Linked DNA regions of Homo sapiens: regions 2, 3, 4, 5 and 6 are each linked to region 1. Evidence: promoter capture Hi-C in human tissues and cell types (Jung and others, 2019). All regions are on one chromosome and are shown on one strand. Each heading gives the region's core, a stretch centred on a gene start or on the middle of the fragment in contact. The rest is flanking DNA. Distances are from core to core; before and after follow the strand shown.

Region 1 (5,192 bases), core at 2-2,501:
ATAATAAAGTTAAAGCACAGAGAAGCAAACAAACCCTGCTACTTGTCCCCAGATCACTGGAACTATAAAATACTAGAAATGGTCTGCTTACTAAAAAATAACAAAACAAAATCCTACTTAACATAGAATCCAAGTAAAGTGCAGATAAGCACCCTAGAGACTATTATGCCATAGGTCTGACTCCTTGAGATGCATGACCCTACAAGCCATGCAAAGTTGAATGCCACTGCACACATTAATCATGGAGGTGGCACCTGCGTGTAACAGACAGTCCTGACTGTAAGCACAAAAATAATAATAGGAAAATGTCCTGGAATTAGAGGTAATGACTATACAACTTTGCGAATACACTAAAAACCACTGAATTTTATACCTCAATATTATATCTCAAACAAAAAAAATAAAAATAAAAGATATACAAGAAGACTGAACATCAAAGCTGAGAGCTTTACTCAGACAAGCCACAGGCCACCCATGAATGAGACATAGGTAAGCGAGAGGAGGTTAAATTTTATCAGCACACAGGGGCGGCTAAATCTTGGGATATCTCGTTGAAGGAGAGTTGGTGTAGAGAACACAGCGCACCATGACAGACTCGAGTTTCTAAGGGAGAAGAGGCGACCTCCTATATATTCCCAGGGAAAGATCTCGAGTTTGAGCAGCAAGCATATAAACCCCGGAAACATCAGCGCCCACCTCTGTAATCTGCGAGGTGTTTTACAGTTTATCGGGTACTCTCACACCTCTGCTCCCGTGGGTTGGTTAGGAAAAGAGTAGCGCACTGTCAAATTCGAACAGGCTGGAGAGGAACTTTCAAGAACTCCTTCTCCGAGTGGCCCTGAGGCTGCAGAGACGCGGTGCCCCCAGCCTGAGAGGGCACAGGGGCTGAAGAAGATGATGATCAGACCTTGGCCAGGTATTTCGATCAGGGCTCTTAGGGAAGGAGGATGCTCTCGCTTCAGAAACGAAGTCGAGCGAAGTCGGTGGGGGCGATCGTACAAGTTCATGGCCCCCACCCGCCTCCATACACGACACTTACCTCGTCAGTGTCCCGGAGGGGAATCTCGATGGAGCCCCGCGACATGATGGGGTCAAAAGGCGAGCAAGTGTCTCGCCCCGCCGCTCCGCAGCCGGTAGTCTCCGCTTCAGGCTAATCCAGAGGTGAGTGACGGCTCCGGCTCTGGTCTTGACTGCCGCCCCGCGGCGCCGCTGGAGCTCTGGCTTCTCCTTCCCGTCAGCCGCTTAAACAACGAGCAGCGGACGGCGGACGGCCACTTCCGGCGACCCCGCCCCCTGTCCCGGAAGCACTCCCGGGGGAGCGTGCCCTACGCGAGCTCAGCTTGTGGCTCCGGTGTTTCCGTTTTGGGGTTGGCGGCTCCGAAGCTTTTGTTGGCGTGTCGGCTGTAGGGTGCCCCGAGAGCCTGCAGGACCTTCGGAACCATCTGGCGTCTGACTCTCCTCAGCGCTGGCGCGGCCCCGAATGAAAACTTGGAAGGCGTAGCCGCTTGGTCCCGCGGTGGGCGGGGCCCCTGCCTGACGTGGACCTCTCGGGATGGGCCTGGCCAATCCTGTTTTCTTCCCAAGATTGTTAGGGATAATTCAGTCATTCGTTTCGCAACCCATCTTTTGGCCCCCGTTAGGTGTAAGTCATACCTGTGATACCTTTGTGACTAGTTTAAATAAAAAAATTTACAATTAATTCGGTAATCATTGTGATAATTCATGTCTTATTTTTTTTAGTTCTTCGAAGCATGTAAGAAGATCTAGTATATTTGTGATTTAAGTAAAATTGCAGATGAGGCCAGGCGCGGTGGCTCACGCCTGTAATCCCAGCACTTTGGGAGGCCAAGGCGGGCGGATCATCTGAGGTCAGGAGTTCGAGACCAGCCTGACCAACATGGTGAAAACCCGTCTATACTAAAAATACAAAAATTAGCCCGGCGCGGTGGTGGGCGCCTGTAATCCCAGCTACCAGGGAGACTGAAACAGGAGACTCGCTTGAACCCGGGAGACGGAGGTTGCGCTGAGCCGAGATCAGCCACTGCGCTCCAGACTGGGGATCGATCGAGACTCCACCTCAAAAAAAAAAAAAAGAGGAAATTAATTTTAGTAATATATTTTATTTAACGTAATATATCCAAAATCTCATTTCAACATGTAGTCAATATAAAAATTCAGATAATTTTTACATTTTTTTATACTGAGTCTTGAAAATTCGATATGTATTTCACATGCATACACTGATCTCAGTTGCCTGATTTTAATTGGAAATATTGGATCTGTGTTTAGATTTTATAAAGTTTGCAGTTGAAAAAATAGGTTCACACACTTTAGTTTTTCCAAAATTTAAATTAAAAAAATTCCTAATTAAATTCCTTAATTGGATTAGTCATATTTCAAGTGTTCAATAGCCACATGTGGTTAGTGAATACTGCATTGGATGGCATCAGACAGTATTTCCCAGAAATACTGTTTAATATATTTTAAAGTTTATAAAGTAAGCATTAAACAAAAGTACACATAGTGGTGATTGTTATTCTCCATGCCCAAAAGCCTCCCTGATATTAAAAACTCTATTGATAGGTTTGGTTTTTCAGTTATTCGCATCCAAAGGCATCATACCTGATAATGCAGAGTGCTATGATTGAATAGTTGGGGCACTCAGTTTAGAGTGGGATTTGGAGGAAGTGACATTTAAGTTGCATCTGGGAAAATGAGTAAGGTTTGGCAGGTAAAGTATGTAGGGGAATGTGTACCAGACAGAGGGGACGGCATGTTGGGGAAGAGCTTTGAGAACCTGCAAGAAGGTCATGTGACTAGAATGTAGAAAATGAGGGGGAGAGTGGCATGAGTTGAAGCTGATATAAGAAGTACCCAGACATGCTGGGGTTTATGCTTATAAAGCAAAACTGACATCTTGTCCTGTTTCCAAAATGAGTGAGTGTACATATTACTTCCCACAGGAAAAACAAAATACTTTGTGTTCTGAAATAAACCGTGAAACAACAGTATCACACTCTGTAGTCTCCAAAGTGAACAAAACTTTCAGCATTTCCCATATATTACTGACTCTCTTACAGTTTAATTGCTGACTTTTGTACTGCTACAGTCTGAAGATATGTGGGAGCTTGGGGTCATATGGCAATCATATGAGAAAATTGCTCTTTTCTCACCATGAAGCAACTAACTGTAAACCTTGGTGTGTGTTCATTTGATGTATCAGTCCTTCTAAAGCGTAAATTCACCTGTATACTTTTGCAAGTGTTTTTGTAAGTAAACTTTTTTTCTAAATGCTTTTGTCCTTCAGAATTTCTTTTGACTTAGTATATATTAATGATTTGGGGTTTTATCTTACATGCAAAGTGATTGAAATGCTTTAAGTGATGTGTATGTGTCAATGAGAGGGAGAAAGAATAAAAGAGAATTGGTTTTGGCCAGGCACGGTGGCTCATGCCTGTAATCCCAGTACTTTGGGTGGCCGAGGTGGCCTATCACATGAGTTTAAGAATTCAAGACCAGTCTGGGCAACATGGTGAAATTTGTCTCTACTAAAGATACAAAAATTAGCTGGGTGTGGTGGTGCACGCCTGTTATCCCAGCTACTCAGGAGGCTGAGGCATGAGAATCACTTGAGCCCCAGAGGCGGAGGTGAAGGTTGCAGTGAGCCAAGATCATGCCGGTGCACTCCAGCCTGGGCGACAGAGTGAGACTCTGTCTGAAAAAAAAAAAAAAGAATTGGTTTTAAAAGATTGTTCTGGCTATGTTGTGAAAGATGGATTGGAAAGTGTCTCGAGAGGATGTGGGCAGACCACTTAGGAAACTGCTGTCTAGGTCACAGATGATAAATAGGAATAGGTTTAAGACAGTGGAGGTGGAGAGAAGTGGATGGATTTAAGATTATCATCTATCTATCTGTCTATCAATCATCTGTTGATACCTTAGTCACTAGGACTTGCCAATGTATTGGATATAGGCCGGGGTCACTGAAAAAGTAGTGTCAAGAAGGACGTCCAGTTTCTGGCATGAACAACTGGGTGAATGATGTGTCATTTCCTAAAATAGGAAAGATTAGTGGAGGAGCACATTTGGGCAAGGGTAGACCACTAGTTGGATTTCACATGTGTTGTTTGTAGTTTGTACTGTCTCTGCGACAGCCAGATGCAGATTTCAGATAGTCTAAATTACAGATCTGTAATTTAGAAGACAGTTTCTAACCTGGAGAAATAGGTCTGAGAGCTATTGGCATAAAGATGAATTTTAAAACTATGGGATTAAATTAGATTAGATAACCTAGGGAGAGAATGGAGAGTGACAAGAGAAGGGCCTAGTTCCCAGCCTGAGGAATTCTAGCACACAGAGGGTGTGAAGAGGAAGGTGGCCTGCAAGGAATCAGCAAGGACAATGAAGAGAGAATCACCTATCAGGGGCCTGGCAACAATTGAGACTTAAACTACACTCTTGGTACCAGGTTGCTACAAGCAGCCTTTTGTTTTTCCCTAAATGTAGCAGGCACTGATGAAATTAGATGTTTTAAAGCTGTAGAACCAGTTTTGGAGCAATTTCAAAGATTTTATTTCAACTGGCATGATTGCATAATGTCCATTCACAAAACACCATGCCCCATGTTGGGCCTGAGTGCACCAGATCAAGGCAAAGCAGTTAGTGTATTTGGCCAGTGTGGGTTTTGTTGAGTACATGTTCTAAATAGATTGTTAAGATTCTTACTTTTATGTTGTTGGTATTGCAGTTGTCTGTAATGTTGGTAAATATATACATTTAGCCAATCTGAAGAGTAAGTTATTTTATATGTTGATAAAATATGCTAATAATTAATTTATTATTTTTGAGGCAGGGTCTCACTCTGTCATGCAGGATGGAGTACGGTGGCACCATCACAGCTCATTGCAGCCTCAAACTCCTGGGCTCAAGCAATTTCCTGCTTCAGCCTCCCAAGCAGCTGGGATTATAAGCAGACACTACCACATCTGGCGAAATATGCTAATTATTAAAAAGGAGTGAAGAAAGTTGATCTTAACAAATTAAATATACATATAATTTGTTATATATAATTATGTGTGTATATATTATATATATATTATATATAATATAAATATTATATTTTATATATAATATAAATATATTTTATATAATATATATTATATATAATATATAATATATATTATATAAATATA
Region 2 (5,192 bases), core at 685-3,184, 420 kb after region 1:
TCTAGCATACTCTCAAGTGCAGTATGCTAACACTAGGACAAATGAGCTCTACCCTTGTAATACAGCACAACTGCAAAGCAGTAATGTCATGTGAATCAAGTTCCTTCAGATTTCAGTCATGTCAGCTTTTTGTTAATTTTTCTTTTATTGCAGTCTCCTCTCCCTGGTGACTTAGGCTAAATCTGGGGGTAATGAAATGACCGAAATCTGACTTACAGCCACTGTGTGTACTCCAAATGATTCCTCCTTCCTATTAGTCATAACATAACCCTTTGTCCTTGAACCAGGCTGCTCTGCCTAGTTTCCTGTTCTTCATGCAAAAACTCCAAGAAACCAGCCTTGCCAACCTCCGATAGGAGTCTAAAGCTACCATTTAGTCTGAAAACTGAGATCTGTGCTACACTTGAATGCAAAGTCATCAGAATTAGCTTACACAAGTTCCCCTTTCTCCCTCTGGCATATACTTCCACTCCTTTGCCATCCCAGCTTTGACTTCCCTTTCTTCTTCAGCCCTAATGAGAACTGGGAGTGCGAAAAAATGTAAGGAAGAAAGGAGGAAAAAGAAGAAAGACAGGAGAGATTAATCTCGATCCCAAAGATAGGTAGGACCTTTTGTTATTACACCAGCAAGTCATGGTTCTCTCCTTTCTTCCCTCTTTGTCTCCCAACCCTCTTCAACATGTATACTTGCCAAGGGCTAGGGAAACCCCAGCTTACAAGATCTACTCCCTCTAAAGGGACTGATCCTAAAATTAAAGCCAGTCCAGAGGGGCCACCTTTCTAGCCCAGGCAAGATATTCAAGCCTCAAACCAGGTTAAGGTCGTGTTGGAGTCCACACATGCCCTCTTCTTCCCTATCCAACAAAGGCCTGAGAAACTATGGTCTTTTCCATTAATGCCCTTGGACTGGAAGGGCAGGGGTCATATATAAATTCTGTGCTAAATACTATGAATTTTTTTTCTTTTTTCAGCATGAGACAGATACTGTGAATGCTATATCCCATTTAATGCCCATAGTAAATCCTGTGCTATAATGTATTAATTAAGATGGCTTCCATTAAAAGGAGCAGAAAGCTCAACTCACTATGGGTTACTAAGTGAAGGAGATGATTGGTTTATACAATAGAAGTATGACAGGATTGAGGATGGGTCCATTTAGGAGTTCAACAACTTTATCAGGGAGTTCTATTTTCCATCACTCCACTCTGCCATTCACAATGAGAGCTTCCATCTAGGGCTTGCCCCTGTTTTAGTCTCAGAGTGGCTTTCTATTGCTGCTGAGACTGCATATGTCTCCCACTTTTATCTAGCAGGAGAAAGGGAACTTGTTTTTCTGGAAATAAGCCAGTAAACTTATGCAAACTCATTGGCCTGAATTGCTAGTGAGACCACATATGTGTCCCATTCTTATCTAGCAGGAAAAAGGAAATTTGTTTTTCTGGAAATAAGCCAATAAACTTATGCAAGCTCACTGGCCTGAATTAGGCCAGCACCCATCACTGGGTCCTGTAATAGTGGCCTTAAAATGGAATTGCACTAGGCCTGAGTCTTCAGGAGTGGAGTGGTCTATTGGGGGAGATGTGGATACCCTAACAAAAGTCATGGTAGTTACCAAGAGAAGAACAAGGGCTGGGGAGGCAACTCCAAGGCTCTCTTAGCTACATATTATCCTATTTTTCAGAGGAGAAACTGAAGCTTGGAGATGCTGCTGTGTGTAATGATAGAGCCAGGACTCTCACCCTTCCCTACACCAGGTTATCTTGAAGAAACAAACCAAAGAAAAGCCGGAATGGTCATCCCTTCACTTTCAGCCTAAAACATGTAGATAGGAAAGAGAAGCAGGGATTTCATGAGACTGGGAAAATCTCAGCCACTGTGCACCCAGGAGCTACTGAATCTACCTACTCCACAAAGCTGAGGCAGCTTTGAACCTTCACATCACCTGGAACCATGCCTAGCTCAGCAACTATTTGTAAACTGAAGAGCAGAGACTACAAAGGTATTACCCATAATGATGAGTTCTAGAGCACTGTTTCCCCAGCCCATTCTGGGTTAAATCAGAGGTGTGGGCTAGCCTGGGAACCTTGCCACACTGCATAACATTGCTCCTCCTGGGGAATGTCTTCCGAGTTCTAAAGGACAGATTTGCAAATAGACTTCTGGAGTACAGCCCCATCCACTGCTGGGAACTGCCTTTGTTTGACTTGTTTATTCAGGAGAGCTTCTCTGGACTTTCACCCAGCCGCTGCCTGGCAGGAGGTGACCTGGCTTTAGCCAACAGTGGGTGGGGACAGCAGGAGAGCAGCTTCTGCTCAGTGCTAACTGGACACAAAGCTATACCATAGGAAGGGGGAAGGGCAGAGTATTCAAAGGCCATAAGACAGCTAGTCTTTGACAAGGGACCTCATTTAAGGAGCATGAGTCTCCCTGTCTCACTTCTACCTGGTGGAAGAGTGAGACAAAATTAACTTACATGACTTGAAAGGCTTTTGCAATTTTTGAGGGCCACTGAGTATAAATTTTCCAATAAGCAGCTGTTGGCTTTTGTTCCTGCTGAGGTCTCTCACAAGGCAGCATCAGGTTTGAGTGTCATGGCCTGCCATGGCCCCACTGGCCTTGAGGGTTTCTGTGGCCTATTTTAAGCAATTTTACTGTTCATGGTCCTGGCAAACATATCCATTTTTCTGACAATATTTATAGTCTGATGTAAGTGTGAACTAGATAATGACCTTTTCAAGTCATGGCACAATGTTCTGTTTAAAGTTTTCATTTTTTTGCTCAGAACATCTGCAAGATCCTTTGACCCTTCTGCATGGTCTCTTGGAGATTTTCCTAACTTTCTGACCACTTGTGGGGATAGAGGGGTGAATGATGGGCAGACCCTTCACGTGTCTTGGGTCATGTGAGCATCTGAGCCTACAGAGAACACTCCTTTTGCTTCTGAAGCTCTTGCAGCCCGTTCTGAGAAATGTAATGCTGACCAGTTCATCTCAGGCATTTCTTTCTCTCCGGACATTATAGGATCACCCTCAAAACACGTGTGAGGGCACATACATCATCAGCTTCCCATAGTGAGTAGTTCCTAGGACTTGGATAACATTTCAAGCTTGACATGGCTAAAACAATACCATATCTGCAGTTAACTTTAGGTGACTCACCAGAAGAGCTATTTTAAACAAATTTGTAGCGACTAAGATTACATTTGTTCTATGAAAAACAGACTGAAAGGACAAAAGGCTAATGCAATATTTTTGAAACGCTCTTTTTAAGCTCAATGAAGTCCTGCTGTATTTTCTTGACAGCATCCTAGTTACCAGGCATAACAGGAGGGGCAATAACTGGTATCTAAACCACTCAAGAAACAAGCATGTCTTGACACCATCCAGCAGGAGTATATGTTCATCAGAAGACAGGTTTGTAGAAATAGTGATGGCCATGTTCATCTAGTCACCAGGGATTCTAATGTATTCCCTTTCAAAATAATATTGGTCAGGCTAGAGCTCTGGTAGCCTTGTGAAGGGTATGGTTTACCAGTCACCTGGCCTGCCTTAAGGTCATCTTCAGTTCTCCTGGCAATTACTATACTCTCTTCTCTATCCCAGAGTGCAGACACATTTCTGTATTTAGTTCAAAGAAAATCAACAGCACAAATTCATAGGGATTCCTGACAAAGCCAGAAGGTCAGAGCTAGAAGCAGATTGGGGCTTCTAGCTCTGACCTTTCAGCTGAGACAAGATTTCTAAGGGGAGAAGAATGAACAGATGTGAGGAATGGGGTGCTCTCATGCTACTCAAATGAAGCACAAAGGTAAACACCAACCTCATTATTCTCCTGAGAAGTTGCTTATTTTCCTGGGGTGGGGAACCTGGGGGCAGGCAGAACCTTCAAGGCCTGAGAACTATCAAGAGACTCTTTAGGAGGCGAGGAGAAGCTGAAACCACTATCCCAACCCAGTTCTCCTGAGTTTTCCTTCCTGCTTCGGGTTTCCCACTTCATTTCCCATTGCCGTGGCATCATGTCAGCCCCTACCTGTGAGGAGATACTGACATTTCTTTAGTGTTATACAAACTCCTTCCCTGAACTCTTCTTCACATAGCTGAGATAGGCTGGAACTTTTCCAAAGCCTTTACAAAATACTGAGGGAGAACAACGGGGACATAAACAAGAAAATACATGAAGCATAAACATGGTCAAGCTTGTGCAATATGTTAACAATCATAATATTTAGGGAATGAGACACAGAAGGGAGAAATGTTGTACATAATAACCTTGTTTGATAATTTTTAGGAACTGTATATACTTTATAAGTAATACACATTTATTTTGACATATACAGTATTAATTTTGGTCCTACCATAGCATTCTAGCTCCCATGGTTCACTCCACTTACAGACTTTCCACCTGATTAACTCTGAGACTCTTCCTTCTGTTCCTTTCTATCCCCGTCCCTCCCCAACAGGTCTCACGAACCTTCTGGGAAGAACAACGGGTGATAAGTTTGACCATTCAGTCAATAAATGTGCCAGCTATAATGCCAGACACAGTGATAAGCCATCAGTTACCTTCAATGCTTATCGATACCACTCAAATGCCTTTTCTCTTTGATAGGAGAAAAGACCAAGGGTCATTTCCTTAACACTTCTTTCTGTGTCCATCTAAAAAGTCACTTAGAATTATATGAAAACACACTTAATAGACTCAGTAATCTCTGCCAAGAAAAAGATCTTGGTTGAAAGAATTCTCAGCTACAACAATGACTGCAATCAAAAAGAACTCATTTACATACAAATGGATCTTCCCAAAGAAGGCAAAAAGGAAAATCCCACTTTCTGATTTGGAGCAGCAACAAGCCACTAATATAGTCAAGGCAAGGCAGCCTCTGTCCTCTGGATGCCTCCAATAAGATGACTAAGGGCTTTATCAAGCCCATCTAAGCTTATGACTATATTAATGCTCCAGTGCTCTTTATTTGAGCTCCGAGGAGCCACTGTTTTCCTCATCCCTCTCATCATCTAACCTGAGCTCAAGTATTCTCACCTGGGTGTGATTCAAATGGAGCTAGCCTTTACTTTCCTGGACACTCGTCTTCCTTAATCTGCCTCAGTTTCCTCAAGGAAGACAAAGATAAAACATCTGGAGACACCACAAATGAACCTCATCACAAATGAACCTCAAGCTGAGAAGAGCACTTC
Region 3 (5,192 bases), core at 1,030-3,529, 400 kb after region 1:
CATTCAAACATTCAGATGAGACCCCAGCCCTGACCAAAATCTTGATTATAGCCTTGTGAAAGATTCTGAAGCAGAAGACACAGTTAAACTGTGGTTGAGTTCCTAACTCAGAAACACTGTGGGATGGATAATAAATGTGTATTGTCTTAAACTACTAAGTTTTGGGGTTGTTACATAGCAATAGATATCTACTATAAGTTCCAAGAGCAAATATCTCACAAGAACCAGGCAGAAACCATAGCTTTTATGACCTAGGCTCAGAAATTACATAGCATAATTTCCCCCAAATTCACAAGCCTGTACAGATTCAAGCAGATGGAATATAGACCACATCTCTCACAAGGAGGGTTGTACAAGTGCCAACATGTCATCATAGGAAGAACATGTGGGAGGAGAGATGCTGCTGTGGCCATCTTTGGGGAACACAGTCTGCCTTGTGGCTCTTTGGCCTTGACCTGTAGCATGGCCTGATCTACTCATGTGAAAATTTCAAGGAAGATTTATGTTGTTTTGCTATTTTGAAATTGAGGTTTTGTTTATGTTCCTCCTGACATGTCTCCTCTGCTTTTAAGAAATTCTCAAGCAATTCATCAGCACGTCACAAGATTAATGGGAGTTTCCCCTCCTGCAACCAAGGAGACCTCAGAACCATAATTTCCAAGAATGTGAATGACTATCTGAAGAATAAGATCCTCTCCACTTAAGAGTGACTCCTAATAAATTACAACATGCCCTGGCTACACGTTCTGAAACATTCCTGTATTGCCCCACACTCCATGCCAGTTGAGGGGAAAGAAGACAGTGAATGAGGGGGATGTGGTTGGGGGATCTAATGGACACTCGGGCGGGGCTGACTCCAGTGGTATTTCCAGTACCCCATAAACTCACAGAACTTCTGAACACGAAGGAATCTCAAAGATCGATCAATTAAATTTATACTGGAAATGTAGCTACGATCATAGCTATGAATTGAATTTATTTATTTAGTGAGATCTGACTATAATAGTATGTCCTTTATAGCTGAATGAAGTAGACATTAGTGTCTAATAGAACTCAAGTATGTCAGACTTCACCAGTTTGTAAACTCATGCTTCTATTTAATGCACCATCATTGTAGCTTGAGCCTCATCCTACTTGACTTCGTGAAATCAGGATTTTATCCAATTCCGCTGGGGAACACTTACGTGGTCCACCCATTTCCTCTGTACTTTTCATCTCTGCCAGCTGCCTGGCCCCACATGGGGGACTCCTATGTCTGAACACCTGCTTCCTTCAGGGTACAACTTTCCTAACTCCACTGTTGTGCCCCAGCATGGGCTGTACAGACTCCTCCACCATTTCCCTGTTGTGATAAAGCAGACTAGGCTGAAACTTTTAACAAGACATTACCAAAGGCTTGGAGAGAAAAGAGAATTACAACAGAGAGAAACTTGAAACTCAGTACCTTTGCCCAGATTCCCCAGTCTCTGGGTTTGACTTCTACATTGCTCTCTACTGCTGCCATGGAGGAAGGGCCAGCCTGCCTCCCCACAGTGGGAAGATACTTCATTCTACAAATCCTTGAGGTTCAGATCAAGGAGGCAGTTATTTCCCTCACACTTCAACCTAAGCTCCATGTCCTTAGTCTTTATTTCCTGCCTTAGGATTGATCGTGTTCCAGGAGGCCTGAGAATTAATGTGTCTATTTCGTGGAAAACTCCAACTTCTAAACAATAACATAACAAGCATTCTAACCATAGAACACTGTGTGTGATAATAACAGCCCAGTCAATGCTGAGTCCCATAAAGCCCAGTTAAGTTCTTTTCCCCATTCTCTCCTCTAGCATGAGTCTATGATCATGGTTATACAGTTGTCTAGCCATCTTCAGTGTCTCAGCTCTTGAGTTTCTATGATTGTCTAGTTGGAAAATGGCTTATTCGGCCTGGCATAGTGGCTCACGCTTGTAATCCCAGCACTTTGGGAGGCTAAAGTGGGCCAATTGCTTGAGCCCAGGAGTTCAAGACCAGCCTGGGCAACATGGCAAAACCTCATCTCTACAAAAAATACAAAAATTAGCTAGTCATGGTGCCCCTATAGTCCCAGCTACTCAGGAAGCTGAGGTGAGAGGATCGCTTGAGCCCAGGAGATTGAGGCTGCGGTAAGCAGAGATCATGCCACTGCACTCCAGCCAGGGCAACAGAACAAGACTCTGTCTCAGAAAAAAAGAAAAATGGCTTATCCGTTAAAAAATTTTCAAGAGCAAGCAATAATAAAGTGACAAATGGCATTGTAAATACATAGGAAATTTTAGGCTGGGCATGGTGGCTCTCACCTATAAAGCCAGCATTTTGGGAGGCTGACGTGGGAGGATCATTTGAGCCCAGGAGTTTGAGACCAGCCTGGGCAACATAGTGAGACTCCATCTCTGCAAAAAAATAAAAATAAAAAAAATAGCCAGGCATGGTGGCACATAACTATACACCTAGCTACTCAGGAGACTGAGATGGGAGGACTGCTTGCGCCCAGGAGGTCAAGGCTGCAGTGAGCCATGATTGTGTCACTGCACTCCAGCTTGGGTGACAGAGCCGGACCCTATCTGAAAAGAAAAGAAAAGAAAAGAAAAGAAAAGAAAAGAAAAGAAAAGAAAAGAAAAGAAAAGAAAAGAAAAAGAAAAAGAAAAAGGAAAGAAAAAGAAAAGAAAAGGAAAGAAAAAGAAAAAAGAAAAGAAAAAGAAAAGAAAAGGAGGGAAGGCAGAGAAGGGAAGGAGACAGACAAAGAAAAAGAAAGAGAAAGAAAGATAAAATGCTCCAAATAAAACCTTTTGAAGAGATCAACTCTGCCTAATATGTTGACATTTTACACAATTTTGCCAAACATTTTAGTTATTGGAGTCATAGTAGCAGAACTTCCCCCATCCCAAGGTAAGATTTTTTTCTCTATATTTGCATACGGCCTATAAGAAGCATTTTCTGAGACGTTTCCTCTTTTTAGAAACACAAAAATGTGTACGGATTACAAATGACAGTTCTTTTTCAGTCTCTACTTACTTCTCAAGTGATCCAAAAATATTTGGGTCTAATCTCAGCCAAGTTCACCTTGTTATATCCACTTTATGGACAAAGGAAGCTGAGGTTCTATGAAATCCAATTTACTGAATTACACAATTAGAAAATGGGGCTGGGAATGGTGGCTCATGCCTTTGGGAGGCCAAGGAGGGAGAATCACTTGAGCCCAGGAGTTAGAGATCAGCCTGGGTAACACAGGGAGACCCCATCTCTATAAAATATAATAATAATAATTAAAAAAATAAAACAATAGAAAATGGGAAGGCTGAAATTCAGAACACCAGCTGCCCTGGACGCTCTGGCCCTTGCAACTATACCAGGCCACACTTGATCTAAAAGGAAATGTTACATATCACAAAAACATGCGTTGTGAAGACCAGCCAAGCATACAACAAATCAGTCCCATTCAGTTTGGGATTACAAGCCGGACGAACAATAGAGCAGGCTTCAAAATAAACTTCCGTTTCCAGGATGAGAAGGAAACATAGGGACATAAGCTCTTAGGAGACACCTGCAGTGAGCAGGGACCTGCGCCAGAGAAAGGGTATAAAGCGGAGCCTGAAAAGAGGGGACTCCGAGGAAGACACCGCATTCATTCTTCCATCCCACAAACTTTCGCCAAGTGAGTCCTTTGTGCCCGGCTTTGTGCTTGGCTTTGTGCTACGCAGCAGGCACAGGCTGATGAATCAGTTAGAGGCGCCTGCCCCCTTGGGCCTCACAATCTGATAGAAGGGACAAACAAGTAAATATAGAACCTGCATTCCTCTCATTCAAGTGAAAAGGACATCCTGATTAAAATATCTATGGCAGCTCTGAGAACATTCGTGCCCAATCACAGTAAGGGCCTGAACTGATTGTCATTTCCTTTGTTTAACCAATTCTCTTACACCTGGAGTAGAATCCCTGGGGCCAGCCCGGCTGGGTACCCAACGTGATCCCTCCAGATCTCTGGAGCAGCTCGCCTTCCTCATAATCATTTTACCCTGGGATGTTTCAGCCTTTGAGGTACAATGTGTGACTAAGGCCACTGTCAACAGGCAATGACACAAAGCATCTGTCGTCTGGCAAAGACCAGCTGAGCAAATGCTTAACTCAGAAGGCTGCTACAGTTTTTGTGAAAACAAATTACATCAGCGCCTAACCCGGGAGTCTCCCAACCAGGCTAAAGGGTGTTTTCTTTGGTGAGCGTGTGTGCTCCTACCTCACACAGCATGAAGGAACTCTGCCTAGAGTGAAGTGGCACAAAGTCTCCATATCTCAGAGCTTGGTGATACCATCAAGAAGACTCCTTGCAAAATCGGCTTAGCAAGGAGGCAGACATTCTGAGACTTCCCGGCATGCAAAGAGCCCCGTGCTGTGGGAAGGGACACACACGAGGTCAGCCAAGGTCATGGGCTCCCAAGGAAATATTTACTGATTAGCTTCCGTGGGCCAGGTGCTGGGTGGAGATTTAACTTACCTTATCTCATTTAATTATACCCCAAGTATGCTCAGCCCCATGGCCTTACTCTGGACCTGCCTTAAGGCCAGCACTTCACAAAGATACCTTTAAAGCAATAGTGAATAATGCAGATTCTACCACTGACTCCATGGGGACATAGAAGGGACATTTATATTGCAGACCACAGGTAAATATTAATCTTCAAGAGATCTATTGTACAACACGGTGACTATAGTTAATAACAATGTCTTGCATTCTTGAATATTGCTAAGAGAGTAGATTTCAAGTGTTCCCACCACAAAAAAAAAGTACATGAGGTAACGCATATGTTAATTAACTCAATTTAGCCACTCCACAATGTATACAAATTTCAAAAATCATGTTGTACACAATAAATACATACAATTTTATTTGTCAATTAAATACATAGATAAATTTGAAAAAAATACTTAGTTTAACACCTCCATTGTCTTCTCCCTTCTCTCCCTTTCCATTCTCTCTAACTTCCCTGTGACAGTTTCCTCTCTCTCTCTTTCTCTCTCTCCCTATTTCTCTCTCTGCCTCCCCATATACACAGCTTCTTCAAAATCCCCTCCACGTCTTCCCCTGTCACTTGCCTAACCCCGCACACAAAAGCCTAATCATAGCCAAAAGGCAAGAATATCCAATTACTCCTTAAGCAAAATCCTTGTGAGCCTCAGTTTGT
Region 4 (5,192 bases), core at 1,800-4,299, 330 kb after region 1:
CTGACTTGAAATTCTTGCTGCCAGCACAGCAGTCTGAAGTCTACCTGGGATGCTTGAGCTTGGTTGGGGGAGGGGCATCCACCATTACTGAGGCTTGAGTAGGCAGTTTTCCCCTCATAGTGTAAACAAAGCCACAGGGAAGTTTGAACTGGATGGAGCCCACCACAGCTCGGCAAAGCTGCTGTAGCCAGACTGCCTCTCTAGATTCCTCCTCTCTGGGCAGGGCATCTCTGAAAGAAAGGCAGCAGCCCTAGTCAGAGGCTTATAGTTAAAGCTCGCATCTCCCTGGGACAGAGCATCTGGGGGAAGCGGCGGCTGTGGGCGCAGCTTCAGCAGACTTAAACGTTCCTGCCTGCCAGCTCTGAAGAGAGCAGCAGATCTCCCAGCACAGCGTTTGAGCTCTGCTAAGGGACAGAGTGCCTCCTCACGTGGGTCCCTGACCCCTGTGCCTCCTGACTGGGAGACACCTCCCAGCAGGGATGGACAGACACTTCCTACAGGAGAGCTCCAGCTGACCTCTGGTGGGTGCCCCTCTGGGACGAAGCTTCCAGAGGAAGAAACAGGCAGCAATCTTTGTTGTGCTGCAGCCTCCATTGGTGATAACCAGGAAAACAGGGTCTGGAGTGGACCTCCAGCAAATTCCAGCAGATCTGCAGCAAAGGGGCCTGACTGTTACAAGGAAAACTAACAAACAGAAAGGAATACCATCAACATAAACAAAAAGGACGTCCACGCCAAAACCCCATCTGAAGATCACCAACATCAAAGACTGAAGGTAGATAAATCCACAAAGATGAGGAAAAATCAGTGCAAAAAGGCTGAAAATTCCAAAAACCAGAATGCCTCTTCTCCTTCAAAGGATCACAACTCCTCGCCCAGCAAGGGAATAAAACTGGATGGAGAATGAGTTTGACCAATTGACAGAAGTAGGCTTCAGAAGGTATGTAATAACAAACTCCTCCAAGCTAAAGCAGCATGTTTTAACCCAATGCAAGGAAGCTAAGAACTTTGAAAAAAGGTTAGACAAATTGCTAACTAGAATAATCAGTTTAGAGAAGAACATAAATGAGCTGAAAAACACAGCACAAGAACTTCGTGAAGCACACACAAGTAACAATACCCGAATCAATCAAGCGGAAGAAAAGATATCAGAGATTGAAGACCAACTTAATGAAATAAAGTGTGAAGATAAGATGAGAGAAAAAAGAATGAAAAGGAATAAACAAAGCCTCCAAGAAATATGGACCTATGTGAAAAGACAAAACCTACATTTGATTGATGTACCTAAAAGTGACAGGGAGAATGGAACCAAGTAGGAAAATACTCTTCAGGATATCATCCAGGAGAACGTCCCCACCCTAGCAAGACAGGTCAACATTCAAATTCAGGAAATACAGAGAACACCACAAAGATATTCCTCAAGAAGAGCAACCCCAAGACACATAATCCTCAGATTCACCAAGGTTGAAATGAAGGAAAAAATGTTAAGGGCAGCCAGAGAGAAAGGTTGGGTTACCCGCAAAGGGAAGCCCATCAGACTAACAGCAGATCTCTCTGCAGAAACCCTACAAGCCAGAAGAGAGTGGGGGCCAATAGTCAGCATTCTTGAAGAAAAGAATTTTCAACCCAGAATTTCATATCAGCCAAACTAAGCTTCATAAGCGAAAGAGAAATAAAATCCTTTACAGACAAGCAAATGCTGAGAGATTTTGTCACCACCAGGCCTGCCTTACAAGAGCTCCTGAAGGAAGCACTAAACATGGAAAGGAACAACCAGTACCAGCCACTGCAAACATACCAAATTGTAAAGACCATCGACACTATGAAGAAACTGTATCAACTGACGGGCAAAATAACCAGCTAGCATCATAATAACAGAATCAAATTCACACATAACAATACTAACCTTAAATGTAAACAGGCTAAATGCTCCAATTAAAAGACACAAACTGGCAAATTGGATGAAGAGTCAAGACGCATCAGTATTCAGGAGACTCATCTCACTTGCAAAGACATACATAGGTTCAAAATAAAGGGATGGAGGAATATTTACCAAGCAAATGGAAAGAAAAAAAAAAAAAGCAGGGGTTGCAATCCTAGTCTCTGATGAAACAGACTTTAAACCAACAAAGATCAAAAGCGACAAAGAAGGGCATTACATAATGTTAAAGGGATCAACGCAACAAGAAGAGCTAACTAGCCTAAATATATACGCACCCAATACAGGAGCACCCAGATTCATAAAGTTCTTAGAGACCTACAAAGAGACTTAGACTCCCACACAATAATAGGGGGAGACTTTAACACCCCACTGGCAGATCAACGAGACAGAAAATTAACAAAGATATTCAGGACTCAAACTCAGCTCTGGACCAAGCAGACCTAATAGACATCTACAGAACTCTCCACCCCAAATCAATAGAATATACATTCTTCTCAGTACCACATCACACTTATTCTAAAATAGACCACATAATTGGAAATAAAACACTCCTCAGGAAATGCAAAAGAATGGAAATCATAGCAAACAGTCTCTCAGACCACAGTGAAATCAAATTAGAACTCAGGATTAAGAAACTCACTCAAAGCTGCACAACTACATAGAAACTGAACAACCTGCTCCTGAATGCCTACTGGGTAAATAACAAAATTAAGGCAGAAATAAATAAGTTCTTTGAAACCAATGAGAACAGACACACAACATACCAGAATCTCTGGGACACAGCTAAGGCAGTGTTTAGAGGGAAATTTATAGCACTTAATGGCCACAGGAGAAAGCAGGAAAGATCTAAACTCGACACCCTAACATCACAATTAAAAGAACTAGTGAAGCAAGAGCAAACAAATTCAAAACCTAGCAGAAGACAAGAAATAACTGAGATCAGAGCAGCAATGAGATAGAGACACAAAAAACCCTTCAAAAAAATCAATGAATCTAGGAGCCAGTTTTTTGAAAAGATCAACAAAATAGATAGACCACTAGCCAGACTAATAAAGAAGAATAGACAGAAGAATCAAATAGAAGCAATAAAAAATGATAAAGGGGATATCACCATTAATCCCACAGAAATATAAACTACCAACAGAGAATACTATAAACACCTCTACGCAAATACACTAAACAATCTAGAAGAAATGGATAAATTCCTGGACACATACACCCTCTCAAGACTAAACCAGGAAGAAGTGAAATCCCTGAATAGACCAATAACAAGTTCTGAAATTGAGGCAGTAATGAATAGCCTACCAACCAAAAAAAGCTCAGAACCAGACAGATTCACAGCCAAATTCTACCAGAGGGACAAAGAGGAGCTGGTACCATTCCTTCTGAAACTATTCCAAACAATAGAAGATGAGGGACTCCTCCCTAACTCATTTTATGAGGCCAGCATCATCCTGATACCAAAACCTGGCAGAGGCACAACAGAAAAAGAAAATTTCAGGCCAATATCCCTGATGAACATTGATAGGAAAATCCTCAATAAAATACCAGCAAACCAAATCTAGCAGCACATCCAAAAGCTTATCCACCACGATCAAGTTGGCTCCATAGCTGGGATGCAAGGCTGGTTCAACATATGCAAATCAATAAATGTAATCCATCACATAAGCAGAACCAATGACAAAAAACACATGATTATCTGAATAGATGCAGAAAAGGCCTTTGATATAATTCAGCACCCCTTCATGCTAAAAACTCTCAATAAACTAGGTATTGATGGAACGTATCTCAAAATAATAAGAGCTATTTATGACAAACCCACAGGCAATATCATACTGAATGGGCAAAAACTGGAAGCATTCCCTTTGAAAACCGGCACAAGACAAGGATGCCCTCTCTCACCACTCCTACTCAACATAGTATTGGAAGTTCTGGCCAGGGCAATCAGGCAAGAGAAAGAAATAAAGGGTATTCAAATAACAAGAGAGGAAGTCAAATTGTCTCTCTTCGCAGATGACATGATTGTACATTTAGAAAACCCCATCATCTCAGCGCAAAATCTCCTTAGCTGATAAGAAACTTTAGCAAAGTCTCAAGACACAAAATCAGTGTACAAAAATCACAGGCATTCCTATACACCAATAATAGACAAACAGAGCCAAATCATGAGTGAACTCCCATTCTCAATTGCTACTAAGAGAATAAAATACCTAGGAATAGAACTTACGAGGGATGTGAAGGACCTTTTCAAGGAGAACTACAAACCAATGCTCAAGGAAATAAGAGACGACACAAACAAATAGAAAAACATTCCATGCTCATGGATAGCAAGAATCAATACCGTGAAAATGGCCATGCTGCCCAAGGTAATTTATAGGTTCAATGCTATCCCCAACAAGCTACCATTGACTTTCTTCACAGAATTAGAAAAAACTACTTTAAATTTCATTTGGAACCAAAAAAGAGCCCATATAGTGAAGACAGTCCTAAGCAGAAAGAACAAAGCTGGAAGCATCACACTACCTGACTTCAAACTATACTACAAGGCTACAGTAACCAAAACAGCATGGTACTGGTACTACAACAGACATATAGACCAACGGAACAGAACAGAGGCCTCAGAAATAAATGCCACACATCTACAGCCATCTGCTCTTTGACAAACTTGACAGAAACAAGCAATGGGGAAAGGATTCCCTATTTAATAAATGGTGTTGGGAAAACAGGCTAGCCATATGCAGTAAACTGAAAATGGACCCCTTCCTTACACCTAATACAAAAATTAACTCAAGATGGATTAAAGACTTAGATGTAGGACCTAAAACCATAAAAACCCTAGAAGAAAACCTAGGCAATACCATTCAGGACATAGGCATGGGCAACGACTTCATGTCTAAAACACCAAAAGCAATGGCAACAAAAGTCAAAATTGACAAATGGGATCTAATTAAACTAAAGAGCTTCTGCACAGCAAAAGAAACTATCATCAGAGTAAACAGGCAACCCTCAGAAAAAACAACCCCATCAAAAAGTCAGCGAAGGATATGAATAGGACACGTCTCAATAGAAAACATTTATGTGGCCAATAAACATATGAAAAAATGCTCATCATCACTGGTCATTAGAGAAATGCAAATCAAAACCACAATGAGATACCATCTCACACCAGTTAGAATGGTGATCATTAAAAAGTCAGGAAACAACAGATGTTGGAGAGGATGTGGAGAAATAGGAATGCTTTTACACTGTT
Region 5 (5,192 bases), core at 979-3,478, 310 kb after region 1:
GTGTATCTTTCATAGTCTCCAAAATGCCACCAGCAGCCTCAACATTACATTATTCTGGTGAGACTCTGCAGCTGAACATCCATAGATGAGAGTCACAGCTTCAAATAGAATTTCCCAAATTCTCTGCCCTCAATCTGCTTCAACTCTTCTGCCTTATCATCTGAAATTCAGACTTCAAATTCTAGGCTGACCATAGCCGTCTAAAATTTTTGGAAGCAGGGAGAGGGAGGTGAGTAGAGTGGAACTCAGGTGAGGCTATGACCTCTGTCTCCCAGAGATGCAGTCTCCCCCATTGCTGCCCACCTGCCCACCACACACACATTCCCCTTAGGCCATACTCTTTCCCAGGAGTCCTCCCTGGCTGTAGCTTCTAGTTTTCCTAGTCTCAAGCTACCTTCGTCCTGGTGCCTTGTTCAGAACTGCTCACCCAACCATTCAATGGGCAATAGGGTCAAAAGCTGAATCTGGAGTGAGGGTCTGTAGCCTTCCTGTCCCACGGTGTTTGCTTCCCAGTTGAATGTCAGACTCCAGGGGCTGGCCACCATCAGCCTTCGACAGTACCATCAACACTCAATACATCCACAGATCTGTGCATTCTACCAGGGACATCTGGAGGAAGGGGTGGCTAAAATTATACCAGAGAAAAGCATGGGGATTTTTCAAGTTCCTGAATTCCTGTTATTTAAAAAGAAGCCGAACTATGACCTCACTGGGGCTATAACATCTCTGGGTCAGGAAAGAGGGCTCTATTTAAGAATTTAATTTGGTAGAAGCCTAAACCTCAGCATTACGCAATATGCCTATGTAACACACCTGCACATGTACCCCCTGAATCTAAAACAAAAATAACAAAAATTTTTAAAAAATTTTTAAACATTTTTTAAAGAATTTAATTTGGGAAATCAAAAAATTGTGATGATTGTATGACATTGTGAATGCAATTAATGCTGCTGAATTGCACATGCAAAATGGTTAAAATGGCAACTTATATATATATTTTTACCACAGTAAAAAATTATCAAAAGAACAACAAAATTAAAGATTGAATTTTTTTAGAAACTGTTATTGCAGAACTTTACTATTTCTTTGGAACATTAAGTATGAACAGGGCAGAGCATGTGGGTCTCTATCCACCATCCAGTATCCCCAAGGCTTCAGGCAAAGCGGTTTAGCCGTGTTCTGGGGGAACACAGAAGACAGTCATGTTCCACACTGGCAAGGCTCAGAAGAGGAAAGGAGGGCAGCAGCCAGAGAAAGAGCATAAACACCAAAAAAGGACTGAGGCCCCATAGTCAGAATGAGGACTCTGACACAGAAGCTCGAGCCAGGTCCTCAGAAATCTTGAGAAGAACACAAGCCCCAAACAGCTCAGGGTGAGCAATCGTTTCCATAGCTCACGATTCATCCAAAGGATGACTCTTTAAGAGGAATAAATCAGCTAGAAGTCATCGGTATCTATCACCTGTCAACTGCTCCCAAAAGGTAAGCCCTCGTCACTGGCCCATCTGCACATTTCATGTCTTGATCACATTCCAGACAATTCCCACTGGATCCAGATCACTACCAGTCACCTATGGCAAAGTTCAGATCCCTATCTAAATGAACATGATGAAAGCTTATGATGCACCAATAATTTAGTGTTCACAAATATATTCACGGGAATTAAGTTCGGCTGATGGTAACAGAGACCCACAATAATAGTGGCCTAAACAAGAGAAAAATTTCTGTCTCATTTCCTTTCCCTAAATAGTCCAGAGTTGGACATTACAGGCTGTTCCACAAAAGCCCCACACTTCTTCCAGCCATCACTCTACCATCCCTCCAGTGTGGCCCTCATACTTTGTGGTGGGAGGGGGGGCGTGGGAAATTAGCTCTTCCTTTGTTAAGGAAGAGGCGGAGGCGGCCGGGCGCGGTGGCTCACGCCTGTAATCCCAGCACTTTGGGAGGCCGAGGCGGGTGGATCATGAGGTCAGGAGATCGAGACCATCCTGGCTAACAAGGTGAAACCCCGTCTCTACTAAAAAAAATACAAAAAAAATTAGCCGGGCGCGGTGGCGGGCGCCTGTAGTCCCAGCTACTCGGGAGGCTGAGGCAGGAGAATGGCGTGAACCCGGGAAGCGGAGCTTGCAGTGAGCCGAGATTGCGCCACTGCAGTCCGCAGTCCGGCCTGGGCGACAGAGCGAGACTCCGTCTCAAAAAAAAAAAAAAAAGAGGCGGAGGCTAGAGCTTCAGCCATTACACTCATGTTTCATGGAGCAGAAAGGAGGAAGTGACGAAGAATAAAAGGCAGAGGGCACAGGCCAGAGGCCTTTTAATTAAGCCACCATATCACACCTCCCACTGGCCTTACTGAGCTGCTCTCTAACATCACTGACCAGTGACCTCAGTATTTTTTGTGTCTCACGTATAATTTCACCAGGGCATAGCCTTCCTTTCCAAATATAACCGCCATTGGTTTTCGTGGTTAACTTGAGTATACCAGGCCTAGAAGCTTGCATCAAAGAGAGCAGATAAAAATATCAACACAGCACAGTTTAGATATCCTCACAACCTCAGAACTTCTCCAGCTTGGTCTTGGTGCACCACGATATTTGCATAGTTGTAGCACCCACTGAAAGGTCCAAAGACCTATGAGTTCGGCAAAAACCTTTTGGCAGTTTCAGGGAGATCAAAGAGAAAGTATGTCTCTCCTGCTCTAAAGGTAAGATTTGATCTGATTAAAGTTTTCACCCCCCTTCCTCATGAATTCCTGACATCAGCAGGACTCCCTCCTGGTAATGTGTCAGAAATGTGTCAGAGAAATGGAGGCAACATAGGCCTGAGGTTACCAGGATTATATTAATATATTATGTGTCACCTTCTCTAATTTGGGAAGCTAGTCTCAACTTGACATGCTTTAAAAGTCCTTCATGTTGTCATCCATGAAAGATCTATTGAGCATCTAGGTGTCAGCCACTGGGTCCTAGAGCAACAGTGGTGAGCAGAGCACCATTCTTGTCTTCATGGAGGTCATCAGCTAGTGGGTGACACAGGACGTTAATCAAATGACTTCAAACTATGATAGAGCTGTGAAGAAAAAATACAAGAACCATACCAGAGCATAACAAGAAAACTCAACCTTCGTCAGGATATGAGGGAGGAGACATGGGGAATGGCATGTGCAAAGGTCCTGGGAGAATTGAGGGGAATAATACCTGAGTCATTTCTTCCCCTACTTTACTTCTATCACATACTTGTGATTGGACATTCTGTTAAGTTTACGCATTAAAGCTTGGTTTTCAATGTGTATAAATTCCTTACTTTACCAAAGGGAAGTACCAGATGGCCCGGGTAAATAAAACCAGATTTAGTGCTCCAGGGTGGTGCTGTTTTTACATTAACTTTTCCAAATCCTGTCACTTTTCCAGCATTTATTAAATATATAACAAACCTATTTTAAGATTCCTCAGGCCCAGGCTCTTGTGTTTTCTCAACATTTCCAGCTGTGTGTCTCACGCATTCCTTCCACGTGAGCATATTCTGAAGGTCAGAGGGGAAGAAAGTTCTTCTCCCCACAGCTACTCTGTAAGCACCTTGCTTCCTTCCATCAAAGTTGTAGAGGTGCCCACTCATGCCACTCCCTGTGCAGACACTCTAGTGCCAGGTACCACCCATTCCACCCTCCTCCTTCTTCAGGGGAGTCTTCAACTTTAATTCTTTTCCTCTTCCAGGGTCTGGCCTTCTGTTCAGCTCCTCTCCATAGAGCAAGAGGAATAGGTCTGAGTGATGATCATGGCCCTGGGCTGAGGTCTGACTGTAGCCTTCTTGTCCCCTAATACCACCACCCCATTCCTGCCTCAAATCAGATCTCTTTAATCTCTACTCATCCTGATGAGTTAGGCTGCCATGTATTACCAAATTTCTACCAGGGATCTCTGAAGTATGTCAGTGAAGTCACAATCTATATCTTTAGTTTTATGTGATATAAAGGGTCCACCATTTAAATCTCAGTCCCTGTCTTTTATCTCCAGAGCTGGTTACTGAGAGCCAGAGTTCCAGAGGGTCCCCCTGGAGCCATCAACAGAATGGCTTCTGCATCAGTAGTCCCAGCAGCAGGCAGATGGTGCATTCATATTAGGCAAATTGATTTAACAGGTCATTTCATAGAAGGACTATTTTCAAAGGTGTGGCAAGTGTGTAGGGAAACAGTGAGGGTCTGTGCAAGACTCAAGAGCTAATAATATCAGGGCTGTTACTTTCTGGGCCTAAAGGGCCAAGATGAGAGAGCAGCTACAGTGATTATGCAGCAAGCTTCCAATGAAGCCAGATTCCAAGTTATTTATTTGTCTCATGTTCCCTGGCTAACTCCTGTTAGCCTGGTCCTGATAGGCCTTTTTAATCACTGCCCTATCCTATTTCTCCAGATCCCTCGCAAGATCTCACAAGGCCCCTCTCCAAGTTTTACTCTTCAGCACAGGATCTTCCTGCCTCTGACCTGACCTCAAGGCCTCCTGTGAACCTGATGGCTACAAGTACCTGGCCAAGCCCACCTGTCCCTGTAGCTTTTCTTTCCTCCTCAGTGAGGATCTGTAAACAGTGCTAAGGGTCACCACCTTTGCCCCCTGACCTTCCTTGCCTTTCTTTGTAGCTGGTGACTTGTACTCAATCAGGCCTTATGGCTTATGGCCTTAAGGCTCAGCAGTTGTGTCCCAGGGTTTTTACTATGAAGGGGAGAGATCCCTCCCACTATCCCCTCCCTGTCCCCGTGCGTCACTATTACTGAGAACACGAAACACGGTCGCCCTGTACTCTCACAGCAATTTCAGTGAACTGCCCTGTTTTTATTCATTTTCTACTACAGCCCTTCCCTCTGAGGCTGGGCCAGAGTGAACAACATTCACAGGCTAGACCCCTTCCCAAGAGGTTTCTAGATCCTTCTGCAAACAGACTTCTGCCACCACAATTGCTCTGGACCATCCAAATACATGTGAATCTGACAGTCCCGGTGCTCAGAACACTAGGCTGTCCCACTAAGACCATGCCTCTGGTATAGTCTTGCAAGGGACAGCTCTGTCCAAGCAGTCTCTCCACAGACATATTTAGAAATATTCTTCTTTCTGTCTAGCTGTCAGCAGCTGAAATCATGCAGCCTAATTTGTTAAACATTTTCTGCCCGGGAGTAGGATTTTGGGGAGTTGCATGTTCTTCTCATA
Region 6 (5,192 bases), core at 1,681-4,180, 280 kb after region 1:
CGCTGATTGATTTGCATATGTTGAACCAGCCTTGCATCCCAGGTATGAAGCCAACTTGATCGTGGTGGATAAGCTTTTTGATGTGCTGCTGGATTTGGTTTGCCAGTATATTATTGAGGACTTTTTTTTTTTTTTTTTTGAGACGGAGTCTCGCTCTGTCGCCCAGGCTGGAGTGCAGTGGCGGGATCTCGGCTCACTGCAAGCTCCGCCTCCCGGGTTCACGCCATTCTCCTGCCTCAGCCTCCCAAGTAGCTGGGACTACAGGCGCCCGCCACTACGCCCGGCTAATTTTTTGTATTTTTAGTAGAGACGGGGTTTCACCGTTTTTAGCCGGGATGGTCTCGATCTCCTGACCTCGTGATCTGCCCGCCTCGGCCTCCCAAAGTGCTGGGATTACAGGCGTGAGCCACCGCGCCCGGCCGAAGACTTTTACATCGATGTTCATCAGGGATATTGGCCTGAAATTTTCTCTGTTGTGTCTCTGCCATGTTTTGGCATCAGGATGATGCTGGCCTCATAAAATGAGTTTGGAATAGTTTCAGAAGGAATGGTACCAGCTCCAAACTATTGTTGGGAATAGTTTCAGAAGGAATGGTACCAGCTCCTCTTTGTACCTCTGGTAGAATTTGGCTGTGAATCTGTCTGGTTCTGGGCTTTTTTTGGTTGGTAGGCTATTCATTACTGCCTCAATTTCATAACTTGTTATTGGTCTATTCAGGGATTCAACTTCTTCCTGGTTTAGACTTGGGAGAGTGTATGCATCCAGGAATTTATCCAATTCTTCTAGATTTTCTAATTTATTTGCATAGAGGTGTTTATAGTATTCTCCGATGGTAGTCTGTATTTCTGTGGGATCAGTGGTGATACCCCGTTTATTATTTTTTATTGTGTCTATTTGATTCTTCTCTCTTTTTCTCTTTGTTAGTCTTGCTAGCAGTCTATTTATTTCATTGATCTTTTCAAAAAAAAAACAGCTCCTGGATTCATTGAGTTTTTGAAGAGTTTTTCATGTCTCTATCTCCTTCGGTTCTGCTCTGATCTTAGTTATTTCTTGTCTTCTGCTAGCTTTTGAATTTGTTTGCTCTTGCTTCTCTAGCTCTTTTAATTGTGATGTTAGGGTGTTGATTTTAGATCTTTCCTGCTTTCTCTTGTGGACATTTAGTGCTATAAATTTCCCACTACACACTGCTTTAAATGTGTCCCAGAGATTCTGGTACGTTGTGTCTTTGTTCTCACTGGTTTCAAAGAACATCTTTATTTCTGCCTTCATTTCCTTATTTACCCAGTAGTCATTCAGGAGCAGATTTTTCAGTTTCCATGTAGTTGTGTGGTTTTGAGTGAGTTTCTTAATCCTGAGTTCTAATTTGATTGCACTGTGGTCTGAGAGACTGTTTGTTATGATTTCCATTCTTTTGCGTTTGCTGAGGAGTGTTTTACTTCCAATTATGTGGTCAATTTTAAAGTAAGTGTGATGAGGTGCTGAGAAGAATGTATATTCTGTTGATTTGGGTTGGAGCTTGTTCCAGAGCTGAGTTCAAGTCCTGAATATCCTTGTTAATTTTGTCTCGTTGATCTGTCTAATATTCACAATGGGGTGTTAAAGTCTCCCATTATTATTGTGTGGGAGTCTAAGTCTCTTTGTAGGTCTCTAAGACTTGCTTTATGAATCTGGGTGCTCCTGTGTTGGGTGCATATATATTTAGGACAGTTAGCTCTTCTTGTTGCATTGATCCCTTTACCATTATGTAATGCCCTTCCTTGTCTCTTTTGATCTTTGTTGGTTTAAAGTCTGTTTTATCAGAGGTTAAACTTGCAACTTCTGCTTTTTTTTTTTTCTTTCCATTTGCTTGGTAAATATTCCTCCATCCCTTTATTTTGAGCCTATGTCTGTCTTTGCACTTGAGATGAGTCTCCTGAATACAGCACACTGTTGGGTCTTGACTCTTCATCCAATTTGCCAGTCTGTGTGTTTTAATTGGGGCATTTAGCCCGTTTACATTTAAGGCTAATATTGTTACGTGTGAATTTGATCCTGTCATCATGATGCTAGCTGGTTGTTTTGCCCATTAGTTGATGCAGTTTCTTCGAAGTGTTGATAGTCTTTACAATTTGGTATGTTTTTGCAGTGGCTGGTACCGGTTGCTCCCTTCCAGGTTTAGTGCTTCCTTCAGGAGCTCTTGTAAGGCAGGCCTGGTGGTGACAAAATCTCTCAGCATTTGCTTGTCTGTAAAGGATTTTATTTCTCCTTTGCTTATGAAGCTTTGTTTGGCTGCATATGAAATTCTGGGTTGAAAATTCTTTTCTTCAAGAATGTTGAATATTGGCCCCCACTCTCTTCTGGCTTGTAGGGTTTCTGCAGAGAGATCTGCTGTTAGTCTGATGGGCTTCTCTTTGTGGGTAGCCTGACCTTTCTCTCTGGCTGCCCTTAACATTTTTTCCTTCATTTCAACCTTGGGGCATCTGACGATTATGTGTCTTGGGGTTGCTCTTCTCGAGGAATATCTTTGTGGTGTTCTCTGTATTTCCTGAATTTGAATGTTGGCTTGTCTTGCTAGGTTGGGGAAGTTTTCCTGGATAATATCCTGAAGAGTGTTTTCCACTTGTTTCGATTCTCCCCGTCACTTTCAGGTACATCCATCAAACGTAGGTTTGGTCTTTGCACATAGTCCCATATTTCTTGGAGGCTTTGTTCATTCCTTTTCATTTTTTTTCCTCTTATCTTGTCTTCTTATTTTATTTCATTAAGTTGGTCTTCAATCTCTGATATCCTTTCTTCCGTTTGATTGATTCAGCTATTCATACTTGTGAATGCTTCACAATGTTCTCGTGCTGTGTTTTTCTGCTCCATCAGGTCATTTATGTTCTTCTCTAAACTGGTTTTTCTAGTTAGCAATTCATCTATCCTTTTTTCAAGGTTCTTATCTTCCTTGCATTGGGTTAGAACATGTTCCTTTAGCTCAGAGGCGTTTGTTATTACCCACCTTCTGAAGCCTACTTCTGTCAATTGGTCAAACTCATTCTCTGTCCAGTTTTTTTCCCTTGCTGGCAAGGAGTTGTGATCATTTGGAGGAGAAGAGGCATTCTGGTTTTTGGAATTTTCAGCCTTTTTGCACTGGTTTACATCCCCATCTTCGTGGATTTATCTATCTTTGGTCTTTGATGCTGGTGATTTTCGGATGTGGTCTCTGATTAGATGTGCTATTCCTTTCTGTTTGTTAGATTTCCTCCTAACAATCAGACCCCTCTGCTAGAGTTTGCTGGAGGTCCACTCCAGACCCTGTTTGGCTGGGTGTCACTAGTGGAGGCTGCAGAACAGCAAAGACTGCTGCCTGTTCTTTCCTCTGGAAGCTTCATCCCAGAGGGGCACTTGCCTGATGCCAGCCAGAGCTCTCCTGTATGAGATGCCTGTCGGCCCCTACTGGGAGGTGTCTCCCAGTCAGGATACACGGGGGTTAGGGACCCACTTGAGGAGGCAGTCTCACCCTTAGCAGAGCTTGAACGCTGTGCTGGGAGGACTGCTGGTCTCTTCAGAGCTGTCAGGCAGGGACATTTATGTCTGCTGAAGCTGTGCCCACAGCTGCCCCTTCCCCCAGGTGCTCTGTCCCAGGGAGATGGGGGTTTTATCTATAAGTCCCTGATTGGGGCTGCTGCCTTTTTTTCAGAGATGCCCTGCCCAGAGAGAAGAAATCTAGAGAGGCAGTCTGGCCACAGCAGCTTTGCTGAGCTGCGGTGGGTTCCACCTAGTTTGAACTTCCTGGTGGCTTTGTTTACACTGTGAGGGTAAAACCTCCTACTCAAGCCTCAGCAATGGCCAACGACCCTCCCCCTACGAAGCTTGAGTGTCCCAGATTGATCTCAGACTGCTGCTGTGCTGGCAGTGAGAATTTTGAGCCAGTGGATCTTTTTTTTTTTTCTTTGAGACGGAGTTTTGCTCTTGTCACCCAAGCTCAGTGCAATGGTGCGATCTCAGATCACTGCAACCTCCTTCTCCTGGGTTCAAGCGATTCTCCTGCCTCAACCTCCCAAGTAACTGGGATTACAGGTGCCCCCCACCACGCCCGGCTAATCTTTGTATTTTTAGTAGAGATGAGGTTTCACCATGTTGGCCAGGCTGGTCTTGAACTCCTGACGTCAGGTGATCCACTCGCCTTGGCCTCCCTAAGTGCTGGGATTACAGGCATGAGCCACTGCGCCTGGCCACCAGTGGATCTTAGTTTGCTGGGCTCCATGGGGCTGGGACCTGCCAAGCCAGACCACTTGGCTCCCTGGCTTTAGCCCCCTTTCCAGGGGAGTGAATGATTCTGTCTTGCTGGCGCTCCAGGCGCCACTGGGGTACAGAAAAAAAAAAAAAAAAAAAAACTCCTGCAGCTAGTTCAGTGTCTGCCTGAATGGCCGCCCTGTTTTGTGCTTGAAACCCAGGGCCCTGGTGGTGTAGGCACCAGAGGCAGTCTCCTGGTCTGCAGGTTGCAAGGACCATGGGAAAAGCACAGTATCTGGGCCAGAGTGCACAGTTCCTCAGGCTCAGTCCCTCAAGGCTTCCCTTGGGTAAGGAAGATAATTCCCCCATCCCTTGTGCTTCTCAGGTGAGGCAACGCCTCACCTTGCTTTGGCTCACCCTCCTTGGGCTGCACCCGCTGTCCAACTAGCCCCAGTGAGATGAACCAGTACCTCAGTTGGAAATGCAGAAATCACCCCCTTCTGCATCGATCTCACTGGGAGCTGCAGACCGGAGATGTTCCTAATTGGCCATCTTGCCAGCCTTAACTATATCCTAATTTTTTAAAAATCAATTTTTATCTGGCTTCTTAAAAAAATACATAATTCCTGCATTCTTCCTCAAAGCATGCTGAACATAATTTAAAGTTTTCTCAATGACCCAGGATCATCACTGTATTATCCAGTTATGATCTCAGAGGTGTGTTATCCCTAAACTACTGTGCTTCAAATTCTTGTGCCTGCTTTTCATAATTATTTTGTTTCCTCTCTCACTGTTGACTGTCTAATAACAACAATAACAAAACAGGAACATTAATGGTGCTCCAAGCACTGCGCTAAGGATTTTTTGTGTATTCGCTCATTTAATTCTCACAAGGTATGTCCTTTTATTATTCTCATTTTGCAGTTTAGGAAACCAGCTCAGGCAGTCAAGAGCTTTGACCAAGGCCATTCAGTAGTAAGTGACAGGGCTGCCA

Evidence for each region. Contacts are between HindIII fragments. The study calls those that stand out against the background at their distance.
Region 2: a contact is called between a fragment that was not itself captured here and the fragment with the promoter of CTR9 in region 1, in 2 of the 25 tissues and cell types used here (lymphoblastoid cells and spleen).
Region 3: a fragment that was not itself captured here is called in contact with the fragment with the promoter of CTR9 in region 1 in 1 of the 25 tissues and cell types used here (lymphoblastoid cells).
Region 4: a fragment that was not itself captured here is called in contact with the fragment with the promoter of CTR9 in region 1 in 1 of the 25 tissues and cell types used here (H1 embryonic stem cells).
Region 5: a fragment that was not itself captured here is called in contact with the fragment with the promoter of CTR9 in region 1 in 1 of the 25 tissues and cell types used here (spleen).
Region 6: a fragment that was not itself captured here is called in contact with the fragment with the promoter of CTR9 in region 1 in 1 of the 25 tissues and cell types used here (H1 embryonic stem cells).

What each region holds. Positions count from the first base shown.
Region 1 is chr11:10,747,305-10,752,496 of GRCh38, reverse strand. It overlaps CTR9 (CTR9 component of Paf1/RNA polymerase II complex), which reads right to left and starts at 1,251. Exons shown (of 25, transcript NM_014633.5): 1 at 1,040-1,251. The coding sequence starts at 1,084. RefSeq lists enhancers at 1,364-1,413, 1,434-1,583, 1,382-1,882. The HindIII fragment of the contact is 21,303 bases long and covers 1-5,192 here.
Region 2 is chr11:10,323,649-10,328,840 of GRCh38, reverse strand. All of the region lies in intron 1 of CAND1.11 (a long non-coding RNA gene), which reads right to left. Among named protein-coding and RNA genes, the nearest start is that of CAND1.11, 18 kb to the right of the region's middle. RefSeq lists a silencer at 1-119. The HindIII fragment of the contact is 5,263 bases long and covers 1-4,565 here.
Region 3 is chr11:10,350,849-10,356,040 of GRCh38, reverse strand. The region is part of intron 2 of CAND1.11 (a long non-coding RNA gene); the gene reads right to left. Among named protein-coding and RNA genes, the nearest start is that of CAND1.11, 45 kb to the right of the region's middle. RefSeq lists enhancers at 1,521-2,051, 2,052-2,583, 3,115-3,646, 3,647-4,177, 2,888-4,844. The HindIII fragment of the contact is 7,535 bases long and covers 1-5,192 here.
Region 4 is chr11:10,420,813-10,426,004 of GRCh38, reverse strand. The region is part of intron 3 of CAND1.11 (a long non-coding RNA gene); the gene reads right to left. Among named protein-coding and RNA genes, the nearest start is that of AMPD3, 32 kb to the left of the region's middle. The HindIII fragment of the contact is 3,899 bases long and covers 1,100-4,998 here.
Region 5 is chr11:10,439,514-10,444,705 of GRCh38, reverse strand. No RefSeq gene overlaps it. Among named protein-coding and RNA genes, the nearest start is that of AMPD3, 13 kb to the left of the region's middle. The HindIII fragment of the contact is 3,104 bases long and covers 677-3,780 here.
Region 6 is chr11:10,464,987-10,470,178 of GRCh38, reverse strand. The region is part of intron 2 of AMPD3 (adenosine monophosphate deaminase 3); the gene reads right to left. Among named protein-coding and RNA genes, the nearest start is that of AMPD3, 12 kb to the right of the region's middle. The HindIII fragment of the contact is 3,528 bases long and covers 1,167-4,694 here.